Linked DNA regions of Homo sapiens: all the other regions are linked to region 1. Evidence: promoter capture Hi-C in 16 types of primary human blood cells and fetal thymus (Javierre and others, 2016). All regions are on one chromosome and are shown on one strand. Each heading gives the region's core, a stretch centred on a gene start or on the middle of the fragment in contact. The rest is flanking DNA. Distances are from core to core; before and after follow the strand shown. Region 1 holds the start of ATE1 (arginyltransferase 1). Region 2 overlaps WDR11 (WD repeat domain 11). Region 3 overlaps C10orf88 (chromosome 10 open reading frame 88). Region 4 overlaps WDR11 (WD repeat domain 11).

Region 1 (2,772 bases), core at 1-2,500:
GTAATCATGTCGCATAAGCCATTTGCATCCTGTTGATTTTCTCCGTTTAAGTCCAAACTGGAAGCATTTTTCCATTTAGTCTTCATAATCCTCACTTCTAACGATTGCATAACTGTCTACTCAAAACCGCTGCCCACAAGTAGCACTTAATAAACACTTTTAATGAAGGAGCAAATGCACACACCGTTATCGACCAAATCATTCCCCACTTACACCTTTTTCATGGAAAATGCCTGTGTGTTTTCATGCGAATCTCGTTTTCCACAAAGCTAGACTGTTCTATTAAAATAATAGAGTCTACATTCTATATTGGCAAATGCATGGCAAGAGAGGAAATAAACACGATGTTTTGTTTACCAGCAACAAATCTCCCCCAAAGAAATCTGAATCACGATGGAAAAACAAAACAAACTTGTGGGCTGGCTTTGCTGTCGTCCGGGTGGGTGGAGGAAAGACACGGCATATAAGCAAATGGTAAAAATTTCAAACAGATCAGGACAAACAGAATCCCTCGCCGGTAGCGACCGCGGTCACCAGTTTCTTGTCCTTTTTTTTTTTAACTTTTTTTTTTTTTAACCCAGAGATGCAAAGGGCTCATCCTTCCTGTACATTCGTCCAGGGAAGTCTGATTCATACATGACCGGCACCTGTGTGCACACCCACAGCTCCCTCTGCACCGCGTTTCGCCCTCGCTCCCGGGACGCTCCCACCGCAGCACCCACCGGTCAGCCCCGGCCATTAACTACGGCTCTGGGGCGTTCCCTGGCACTGCGCGCCGTCCTTCACCTCACACAATCTACCCCAGACGGGCGTCCGTCTCCCGACTCTGGGGAGACCACCACGATTTCGAGAGTACGGGCACCGGTTAGGATTTTCCTGCAGAACAGGCACCGCGAAGCTGCCCCGCTAAGCCGGCGCCGCGGCCCTCCCGAGAGTGCCCCCTCCGTCTCGGCCGTGGCACTGGGGCCAGGGGCTCCGGCCCCCTCGCGTCCTCGCTGGGGGACCCTGGGATCCCGAGACCCGGGCGCCCGGCTTCCCACGCCCGCCGGCCCGGCTCGCTCACCATTGGAGCGGCTGCCCGACTCGTTCTTGCAGTAGCCGCAGCGGTAGAAGTCCTCGCTAGGGAAATAGTCCACGACGCTGGGCGAACCCCCCGCCCAGAAAGCCATGGCCTCGGCCCCGCGAACGCTCAGCCGCCCGGCCCCGCGTCGCTAGCGCGGCCGCCGCCGCCACCCCACAATGCAGCGCGCCGCCCGGGAGCCTCCCGAGGCTCGCGCGAAGCCACTCGGGCGCCCGCAGGCCCGGCCGGCCCGGCGCCTCTTGGAGCTGACGCCGCCCGCGCCATCTTGACCGAGGGCAGCTTTCCACTATTTCCGTTCCTTCTCCATAAGGGGCCGCCGTCGTCAGTGAGGGTGAGGCGGAGAGACAGAGCGGGAAGGGAAACAGGATGGGGAGAGTCAAGAGGGGAAGGGAAGCGGGAGTCGGGGTGCGAGCCTGCCCTTTCCCCCGCCGAGGGCCTGTGCGGGGCGCGGCGGCCGCGCCAACTCCGGCGTCGGGAACACTCACCGCAGGACGCTTTGCCCTCCTTGGAATCGCAGTAGCCGCAGTGGTAGCCGGCCCTGAGGCCCTTGTATTCCACCACCGACGCCATGGCCGCCGCGAGGGTCCGCTCGGGCCGACCACGCCTCTTGGCGCCCGGGGCCGACCTCGGCGAAGCGCTGGGGCCCGCGGCGGGAGGGGTGGAGAGCGAAGCCTGGCGCGGGGACCCGTGGGCGGGGATGGTGGTCGTGTCCCCAAGCCCTGCGTTTGGGCCGGTGCTTCCCACAGCTGTGCGTTATCAGCCCCATTTCACAGGTAAGGAAACTGAGGACCGGAGGTTGTGATTATCCCAAAGTCATTCCCGGCGGGTCTCGGATTGAAAGTCAGGCCGCCCCTGGCCACCGTGTAAGTGACTTGCTGGAGCTGCTTCCAGACCAGCTGGCACGCACTCCAGTGCCCTGAATACAAGAACACAAGCAGGTATTCCGTGAATGGCGAGGGTTCGCAAATTAAAGAACTCTTAACGGCTTTTAAAGGAAACAACTGTCAGCTAGAGACAGTTGCTGTCTTGTACCACTATAAGTCCGGTGCCTCATACGATTTTTAATGAGATGCTGGAAATACAGGGTTTGTTTGTTTTTTTTAACTCTACAGTCCAAACAAAACAGTTTTACAGGCTGAATCCAGCCCATGGGCCTCCATTTTGCAACCACTATTTTAAGGAAGATTTAAGGAATAAGAGTCTAGGGCAAAATATAAAATTGAGGCTCATGCCTGTAATCCCAGCACTTTGGGAGGCCGAGGCGGGCGTATCATGAGGTCAGGAGATTGAGACCATCCTGGCTAACACGTGAAACCCCGTCTCTACTAAAAATACAAAAAATCAGCCTGGCGTGGTGGTGGGCGCCTGTAGTCCCAGCTAGTCGGGAGGCTGAGGCAGGAGAATGGTGTGAACCCGGGAGGCGGAGCTTGCAGTGAGCCGAGATCACGCCGCTGCACTCCAGCCTGTGTGACAGAGCAAGACTCCATCTCAAAAAAATTTTTTAAAAAATGAGTTCCAGGGGCGGGCGCGGTGGCTCACGCCTGTAATCCCAGCACTTTGGGAGGCCGAGGCGGGTGGATCACGAGGTCAGGAGATAAGAGACCATCCTGGCTAACATGGTGAAACCCCTTCTCTACTAAAAAATACAAAAAATTAGCGGGACGTGGTGGCACGCGCCTGTAGTCCCAGCT
Region 2 (2,778 bases), core at 131-2,630, 1.0 Mb before region 1:
GTAGGGCATTCTCCACAGCAGCTGACCAGGACTCTTCAAAAATGAAAAGGTCACATAAGGCCAAAACCAAAAAGGAAGAGGACCATTCTAGATTGGAATAGACTAAAGAGACATGACAATGCAGTGTACCAGCCTTGACTGGACCCGATTTTTAAAAATAATACAGCTGCCAGGACATTTGGGGAATAACAAGGGACTTTTGAATTTGGACTGCATTTTAAGTGATTTTACTGAATCAATATTAAAATTCTTGGGTGTAAAAAAAAAGTATTATTAAAAATATTTCCAATCACTTTCTGGCTTTTAAATTGAAAAATCCACATAAAATATTTTGTGTATAATTTAATTTTTATTTAACTACATAGAATAAAGTTTTCTAAAGCAGAGTTTTCCAATAGAAACATAATGTGAGCCACATAGGTAAGCTTAAATTCTAGTATCCACATTTTAAAAAGTAAAAAGAGATGAAATTGATTTTAATTAAAATTTTATTTAAGCCAATATATCCAAAGTTTTATTTCAACATATAATCAGTATTAAAAGTTACTAGTGAGACATTTTACTTTTTTAAAATTATTCATTCTTCAAAATTCTGTCAGTATTTTACATTTATTGTAAAATGAATTGCCCTCAAAATTTATAGGACAAATTTTCAGCACAAACAGTTAAGCTCTATTTAGATTTTATAAAATTTTCAGTTGAAAAAGTAGGCATGTATTCAAGTTGTTTCAAACATATTTAAAAGTTATCCAATGACTGAATCAATAATCACTTTTTAAGTTTAAATTAGACAAACATTCATTTCCTTCATTATACTAGCCATATGTTAAGTGACTATCATATTGGATATCATACTGGATAATTGCACAGTCCAGAGTTGATGTGGATCACTGATACGATTTGGCTCTGTGTCTCCACCCAAATCTCATGTCAAATTGTAATCTCCACAGGTCAGGGGAGGCAGCTGGTAGGGGGTGATTGGATCATGGGGGCAGATTTCCCCCTTACTGTTCTCACGATAGTAAGTGAGTTCTTAGGAGATCTGATGGCTTAAAAGTGTGGCACTTGCCCCCTCGCTGGCTCTCTCCTGCTGCCATGTAAGATGTGCCTTGCTTCCCCTTCACCTTCTGCCATGATTGTAAGTTTGCCTCCCCAGCCATACGGAACTGTTGAGTCAATTAAACCTCTTCTCTTTATAAATTACCCTGTCTCAGGTAGTTCTTTACAGCAGCATGAAAACAGACAAATACAGTCACTTAAATAAGCCAACACCATGTATAAGTTTGTGTCATTTTACATAATTGTGTCTATTCAAGGGATCCATGGATAAAGCCTCTTCAGGATTCTGGAGGGGAGTTGGTAGTAAGGCCAAGTTGTAAAAGCCAGGGCACCCCTAGAAATTTGGAGCTAAGGTCGAGTCCGATAGAGTGTAGGGTGGTCAGAGCAGAGCTGCTGGGCATTGCAGCCTTTAGGTCTTCTGCTTCTTTGCACTGAAACATGTTGACAACTAGGCAAATCTTGCTTGTTAGTGTTCTAAGTAAGCCAGCTGCTGGATGTGGGGGATGCTAGGGCCTAGAGTCTAAGAAGATAGCCCCTGTGTTCAACAGCTACCTTTATAAGTGAGACCTGGGAATGCTAGTGATCACAGGTGGCATGATCCCTTCAGTGACATACTCAAGGTTGATAGGCCATGTTAGTTGAATAGTCTCGGAAAAACAAAAGTACATACAGGTAAATATATTTATTTTTAATATTTAAAAATAATGAACTTTGTTGCTATTTGTTGAATCATTGCATTGAATCCTTTATTCAAGTAGTACCAGAGTTGTATACCACACAGGATACTTAAATTTTAAAGGGGAAAAGAAGGCCGGGTGTGGTAGCTCATGCCTATAATCCCAGGACTTTGGGAGGCCAAGGTGGGCAGATCACCTGAGGTCAGGAGTTTGAGACCAGTCTGGCCAACATGGTGAAACCCCATCTCTACTAAAAATGCAAAAATTAGCCAGGCATGGTGGCAGGTGCTTGTAATCCCAGTTACTTCGGAGGCTGAGGCAGGAGAATCGCTTGAACCCGGGAGGCGGAGGTTGCTGTGAGCCGAGATCGCACCACCGCACTCCAGCCTAGGTGACAGAGCGAGGCTTTGTCTCAAAAAAAAAATAAAATAAAAAATCAAAAAAGGGGGAAAAGAAAAATATGTTAATCAGATTTGAATGCAGAGACTCTCTCTGCTCTTGGCTTGTGTTTCCTAAGCGGTGACTACATTGAATATACTCTCAGTTGTTCCAGATTTACCTGTTGCTCTCTGCTGACTGCTCTGTAAATGGTTTATAGCTGAAGCTTCACTGTAGTATAAAACTTCATTTTATTTTTAAAAACCTTTCTTTGTTGTCTAGAGCCTGTGTGGTGCCCCTATCTCCTTGTTCCAAGGGCCTCTCTTGCCTTGAAAGCCTTCTTATTACACCAGCCTTGGAATGGACAGTATTCTTTGGACATTTCTCATGTGTAAGTTTTTCACTTTTCTTTTTCTTTCATAATTTACTTGGGGTTGAAAGACACCCATGAAAGTCAGCCATGGCCTGTACTCCAGCATTTAAAGGGAATGGAGCCTTTAAAGCCGAGAGAAGGCAGAGACACTACAGAATTGCCAGGCTGCCTCTGGGTTCTCGGGCCTTTGTGGAAGTGTGGGTCAGTGAGGAGCTGTGAGGGCGTGTATTGCTCTCAGGTGGCTGTGTGCTTGTCTTATGGTCTGAACATGGATGTGTCGTGATGATGAAA
Region 3 (2,780 bases), core at 50-2,549, 1.0 Mb after region 1:
ACATTTCCATCTTTTTTGAAATTCTTCTTTCTGTGGTTTCCATAATCTTCAGCTCTCCTGGTTCTCTTAACTCAGCCCATATTATAATACTGGTACTACATTAATATTTGTGAACCACACAACATCTACAAGGAGTTCTTTACTTGCATTACTTATTTTAAATTTTCACATCAATTCTGTGATCCTTACAGTGTTATCATTTAGATTTTGTACATGAGGAATTCATATTGAAAAAAATATTAATTAACTTGCCATAGGATGCAGAACTAAGAAGAGGCAGGACAAGAGTTTGAAGTCACTTTACCTGACATCAAATCGTTTCTCTTGCTACTCTATCACACTGCTGCCTTCTATGTTTCTGGTTCCTTTTTCCTCTCCCTTCACCACCCTCCGTCAGCTACTGTGGGTACACCCCTAAACTTCCCTTCCAGCCACTGAAGGTTCATTCCATTTCTCCTAATCCTCTGTTTCCAGATGTTTGCAACATCCTTCCAGGGAATGTCTTATTCACAGCTAAAAGTCAATGTTCCCAAAATTAAATTCCTTTTTCCTCCAAGCATCCTCCTCCTTTGGGCTGCATTTATATTATTAGTATCACCATCTTCAAAGCCTCAATTTCATGTTTAACTTGATTTTTCTATCATAATACCAATATTAAGTTAGCTGTCAAGTCCCAATGGCTCCATCATTTTAGCATCATTTAGCATCCAGCATTATGTTACTACGTCCAATCTTAGACCTCATTCACTCTCATCTGGACGAGGGGAATGACGTGCAGCTCATCTTCTCCTTGTAGTCTCACTTTCTTCAGATTCACCTTACACTTGACAGTGGCTTAAAATTTCTTGAAACATAAGTCAAAAACATCTACAAATTTAAACCAGCATCCCAAGCTGTTTATGATCTAGCTGAAATCTACTTTAAACTTTGCCTATTACTTTTTTGCTTCAGAGAAATGAACTACCATTCATTTCCCAGCTATATCAAATTCTTCTAGCATTGAAGATTTTATTCACCTTATTTTTTGTCTGAAATGGCCTTCTTCCAAATTTACTTGTCTAATCCCACCCTACATTTTAAAGGCCTAGATAAAATACCACTTCTTTTAGTGAGCCTTTCCTTAGTGTTTTCATCATTCCCCACTTACATGCTCCAGAATGTAAAAATTCTTAAAGACTACAGATTAACTGACCATCTTCGCACACTCAAAATTGCTCAAACCAGTGCCTTGTTTACTGCAAGAAAAAAATCTTGCTGAATGAATGAATGCATTCATAAAAAGTGTGAAAATGTGTAGTCAAAACACTTTGTAGAAGGGCAAATCTAACAAATGTTAACTTCTACAAAACTAAAAGATAACAGTTAAATCAGTATGAAAGAAAAATTTTAAGTCACTACATTTCTTTACTAAAAGCAATGGTTTTGAAATCATTAATGTTATCTGGAAAGAAATCCATTTCTACTTACCCGCTGCTGACACCTAACCATATCCATCAACTGCTGAGCTCCAGGAGATAACTTTGACCCCATGGACTCCATTATGGTTTGGACCTTGTCAAGGTCTATCCTTGATCCTAGAGCAGGAGAGCTTGTTGAAGAATTTGCAAAAACTGATCTCATGTGTACCACAACTTTACTGATGAACACACACTGCCTTTCGCCAAAGGAGAGCAACTATTATAAAACAAAAGTTCCAGAAAAGAATGATATTAAAAACAATAATCATTTAATGTAACTTCTTGGTATGACCTAAACAAGAGTGAAGTATTCAAGAATCTAAAAATTAACTTCAAGTATATTTTAAACTTTTCTCTAGAACAGCAATAGTCAGGAAAAATTCCAATTTATCATGAGGCTCAGATGAACTATTTAAATAAGAGTCCTTTCAAAAATTAAGACTTCATGTAAAATAACAAATGAGGTGATTAAATAAATGTTTACCTATTTAAAGAACTAAAAATAAACTATAGTAGTTCCTCTTTATCTGTGGAGAATGTGTTCTAAGACCTCCAGTGGCTCCCTGAAATTGCATATAGTACCAACCCCTATATTTTTTCCTATACATACATACCTATGATAAAGTTTAATTTATAAATTAGGTATAGTAAGAGTTTAACAATAGAGTAATTTTGACAACATAATAAAAGTTATGTGAATATGGTCTCCTCTCTCTAAATCTTACTGTGCAATACTTACCCTTCCTGTAATGACGTGACATGATAAAATGCCTACATAATGAGATGAAGTGAGGTGAATGACACAGGCATTGTAATACAGGATTAGGCTACTACTGACCTTCTGATGATACATTTGGCTAGTAAGTGGCTAATGGGCAGTAACATATACAGCAGGGACATACTAGACAAAAGGATGATTCATGTTCCAGACAGGACTGAGCAGGATGGCAGGAGATTCGATCACACTACGCTGAATGAAGCACAATTTAAAACTTATGAATTGTTTATTTCTGAAATTTTCCATTTAATATTTTTGGACCTCAGTTGACTGTGGGTAATGGAAACTGTGGAAAGTGAAACTGCAGATAAAGGAGAACTGCTATATACCAATCTGAGACCTTAACACACCACAACTTGCTACTTAACACAAAATAAGTCTGTCCAAATGCTCATGTAAAACGTTTACTGAAATAAGTAAAATGCAATCCTTTCAAATTCAGAACTATAAGAGAATATCAAAATGATGTAATATAGCTTGCTGGATTACACATAGAAATGATGACTTCAAGGGTGATTTTTCTAACTTGTTAAAGGACACTCAAT
Region 4 (2,779 bases), core at 76-2,575, 1.0 Mb before region 1:
CATCGAAATGATTAAAGTATCTCATTTGAAGTAAGTGTCAACCTAAAAAAAAATCTATGGTGTTATCACAATGAAATCTCGTGGATTTTTTTAATCTTTAAGAAAATGGGAATGTGCTGGAATGCATATGGAATCTTTTTAGTGATAGCAAATGGTGATATGCAGCCCAAAGAAAATATTTTGATTACAAAATTAAGTTGCTATCACTTTTAATTCTCTACTTCTAAAAAGATGAAGTAACTTTTGCATGAATCGTTATTTACTTTCGGATAAAGTTCTTATGTACTTCTATCTAAGCATGGAGTTACTGAGTGAAAGAACTCATTTTCTTTATGTATAATTTAAACTCATTTTGCTTCCAGAAATTGAGTTTTTTTGTTTCAGGGGAAAATAACATGTAAAGCAGTATTATTAAAAATAGAAACTGAATGAAAATCAATCAAAATTACAAAGAAAGAGTAAGCTTTCTAAAGTAGTTTTCAAACTTGTTTTGGCTTTTCTAAGATCTTTGCATTTCCATATAAATTTTAGAATCAGACTATCAGTTTTATCAAAAAATCTTCCTGAGATTTTGATTGGGATTGCATTGAACCCATCAATCAGTGAGGGGAAGAATTGGTATCTTAACAAGTTTTGTAACTCATGAACATGGTATGTCTCTCCACTTATTTAGGTCTTTTAAAATTTCAGCAATATTTTGTAGTTTTCAGTGTGTAAGTCTTACATATTATTTGTTTATTTTGTGTTTTCTTTGATGCTTTTATAAATGACATTTTTAAATTTCAATTATTTATTATTTGTATATTAAAATACAGTTAATTTTCTGATATTGACCTTGTGCCTTGTGACCATGCTAAGCTTAGTTATTACTTCTAGTATAGGTGCTTTTGTTAATTCTTTAGGATTTTCTATAGAGACAGTCTCGTTTGCTAGTAAAGACATCTTTACATCTTTTCGATCTATAGGCCTTCTTTTTGCTTGCACTAATTAGGACCTCCTGTATAGTGTTGATTAGAACTGAGATGTCAGCTACGAGCTGACATCTTTGCTCTGATCCTGGACCTTATGGAGAAAGCATTCAGTCTTTCAACATTAAGTATGATACTAGCTGTAGATTTTTTGTATATTTCCTTTATCAAGTTGAAAAAGTTTTATTCCTAGTTTGCTGAGCCTTTGTATTATGAGTAGGTGTTGAATTTATCAAATGCTTTTTCTGTATTCATTGATATCATCATATGGTGTGTGTGTGTTATTTTGTTTTTCTTTTTGAAGTTCACTAATATGGTGAATTACATTGATTGATTTTCAGATGTTAAGCCAACATGACATTCCCGGAATAAACTCTAGTTGGTCGTGATGTATTACTGTTTTGACATATTGCTGGATTTGATTTATTGATATATTATTAAGAGTTTTATGATATATTATTAAGAGTTTTTATATCTATGTTCATGAAGGATATTGGTGTCGTTTTTATGTAATATCCTTTGTTTTGGTATCAGGGTAATACTGACCTTGCAGAACGTGTTGTAAAGTATTCTCTCTCCTTTTTTTTTGAATGAGTTTGTGTAGAATTGATATTATTCTTACTAAATGGGAAAAATTTATTAGGAAACCCATCTGAACCTAAAATTTTCTTTGTGGCAAAGTTTTTAAATACAAATTCAGTTTTGTTTTTTTTTTTCATAAATATAGGACTATTTAGATTCTCTTTTTTTGAGCTTTGGTAATTGGTGTCTTCCAAGTAATCTGTCCATTTTGTTGAAGTTGCTGAGTTTATTAATTTATTGAAATAAGCTTGTTCATCATGGATCTATGATCAGTGATTATCTTTCCCACTCCTAATATCAGTAAATTATATCAACCAATTTTATTTATTGATCTTTTCCAAGAAACTACTTTTGATTCATTTGATTCTTCTCTATGATTTTTCCATTTTCAATTTCATTGTCTGTCATGCTTATCTTTTGTTCTTCTGCTTACTTTTTAAATATGCTCTCCTTTTTTTACATAGTTTTCTAAAATAGAAACTTAGATAATTGAATTAAGTTGATTCTCTAAAATGTAATGTAAACAGTTAATGCTATATGAGCACCAGTTTTCCTGTATCCTACAATTTTTGTTATGGTTATATGTTTTCATTTTAATTCACATTATAATCTTTAAAAATTTCCATGGGGTGTTATTCAGAGGTATATTTTTTAACTTCAAACTATTTGGGTGTTTTGCCAGGTATCTTTCTGTAAATTTCTACTTTCTGTTGGGGTCACACATGGTCCTGAGTGGAAGAATCTCAGTCCTTTGATACAGGGAGTACAGGGATCTTCCTACTCTGTCACATTTCCTCTATGTCAGCCATCATTTGCTGATAATATTTTAGTTCCTCATAATGCTTATTGAGTAATCAGTGCTCAAATTATATTTGTTGAATTGCACTCGTTGATGTCATTCAGTACTTCTTTCAGGCTTAACAGAAAGTGAATAAAGTGGCATTTGTTGAATACCAACTGTAGTAGAATGATAGAAACTTTACATACTTTTTCATTGAATGTTTACCATAATCTGTATATCAATTAATTGAGGTACATGATGAGATTCTCCTGTCATGTGTGAGAAGTTGAGCCTCAGGAGGGTTAACATAAGTTGTGGCATCAGGGTTTGAATCTATGCCACTCTTTCTTCCAAGTTGGACTCCTTGCCTAATTGTGTGAGACTGTATGTTCTCTTACAGGTCACTTAGAGCTTTACCTTCTTATGACTGTTAATCATGGTGCTAAAT

What was found. Contacts are between HindIII fragments. The CHiCAGO score rates a contact against its expected background, and 5 or more counts as called.
Region 2: a contact is called between a fragment that was not itself captured here and the fragment with the promoter of ATE1 in region 1, in 1 of 17 cell types (M2 macrophages). The highest score is 5.5, in M2 macrophages.
Region 3: a contact is called between a fragment that was not itself captured here and the fragment with the promoter of ATE1 in region 1, in 2 of 17 cell types (total CD4 T cells and naive CD8 T cells). The highest score is 8.2, in total CD4 T cells.
Region 4: a fragment that was not itself captured here is called in contact with the fragment with the promoter of ATE1 in region 1 in 2 of 17 cell types (M1 macrophages and M2 macrophages); the score reaches 6.6 in M1 macrophages.

The regions. Positions count from the first base shown.
Region 1 is chr10:121,926,781-121,929,552 of GRCh38, forward strand. ATE1 (arginyltransferase 1) reads right to left here and starts at 1,251. Exons shown (of 12, transcript NM_001001976.3): 1 at 1,064-1,251. The coding sequence starts at 1,169. It also overlaps the pseudogene ATE1OSP. RefSeq lists enhancers at 463-612, 1,151-2,017 and silencers at 923-1,342, 1,533-1,832. The HindIII fragment of the contact is 6,802 bases long and covers 1-2,772 here.
Region 2 is chr10:120,897,633-120,900,410 of GRCh38, forward strand. WDR11 (WD repeat domain 11) reads left to right here. Exons shown (of 29, transcript NM_018117.12): 20 at 2,397-2,505. Among named protein-coding and RNA genes, the nearest start is that of WDR11, 48 kb to the left of the region's middle. The HindIII fragment of the contact is 1,915 bases long and covers 424-2,338 here.
Region 3 is chr10:122,947,182-122,949,961 of GRCh38, forward strand. C10orf88 (chromosome 10 open reading frame 88) reads right to left here. Exons shown (of 6, transcript NM_024942.4): 4 at 1,468-1,674. Among named protein-coding and RNA genes, the nearest start is that of C10orf88, 5.7 kb to the right of the region's middle. The HindIII fragment of the contact is 3,733 bases long and covers 1-2,780 here.
Region 4 is chr10:120,880,872-120,883,650 of GRCh38, forward strand. WDR11 (WD repeat domain 11) reads left to right here. Exons shown (of 29, transcript NM_018117.12): 13 at 1-30. Among named protein-coding and RNA genes, the nearest start is that of WDR11, 31 kb to the left of the region's middle. The HindIII fragment of the contact is 939 bases long and covers 857-1,795 here.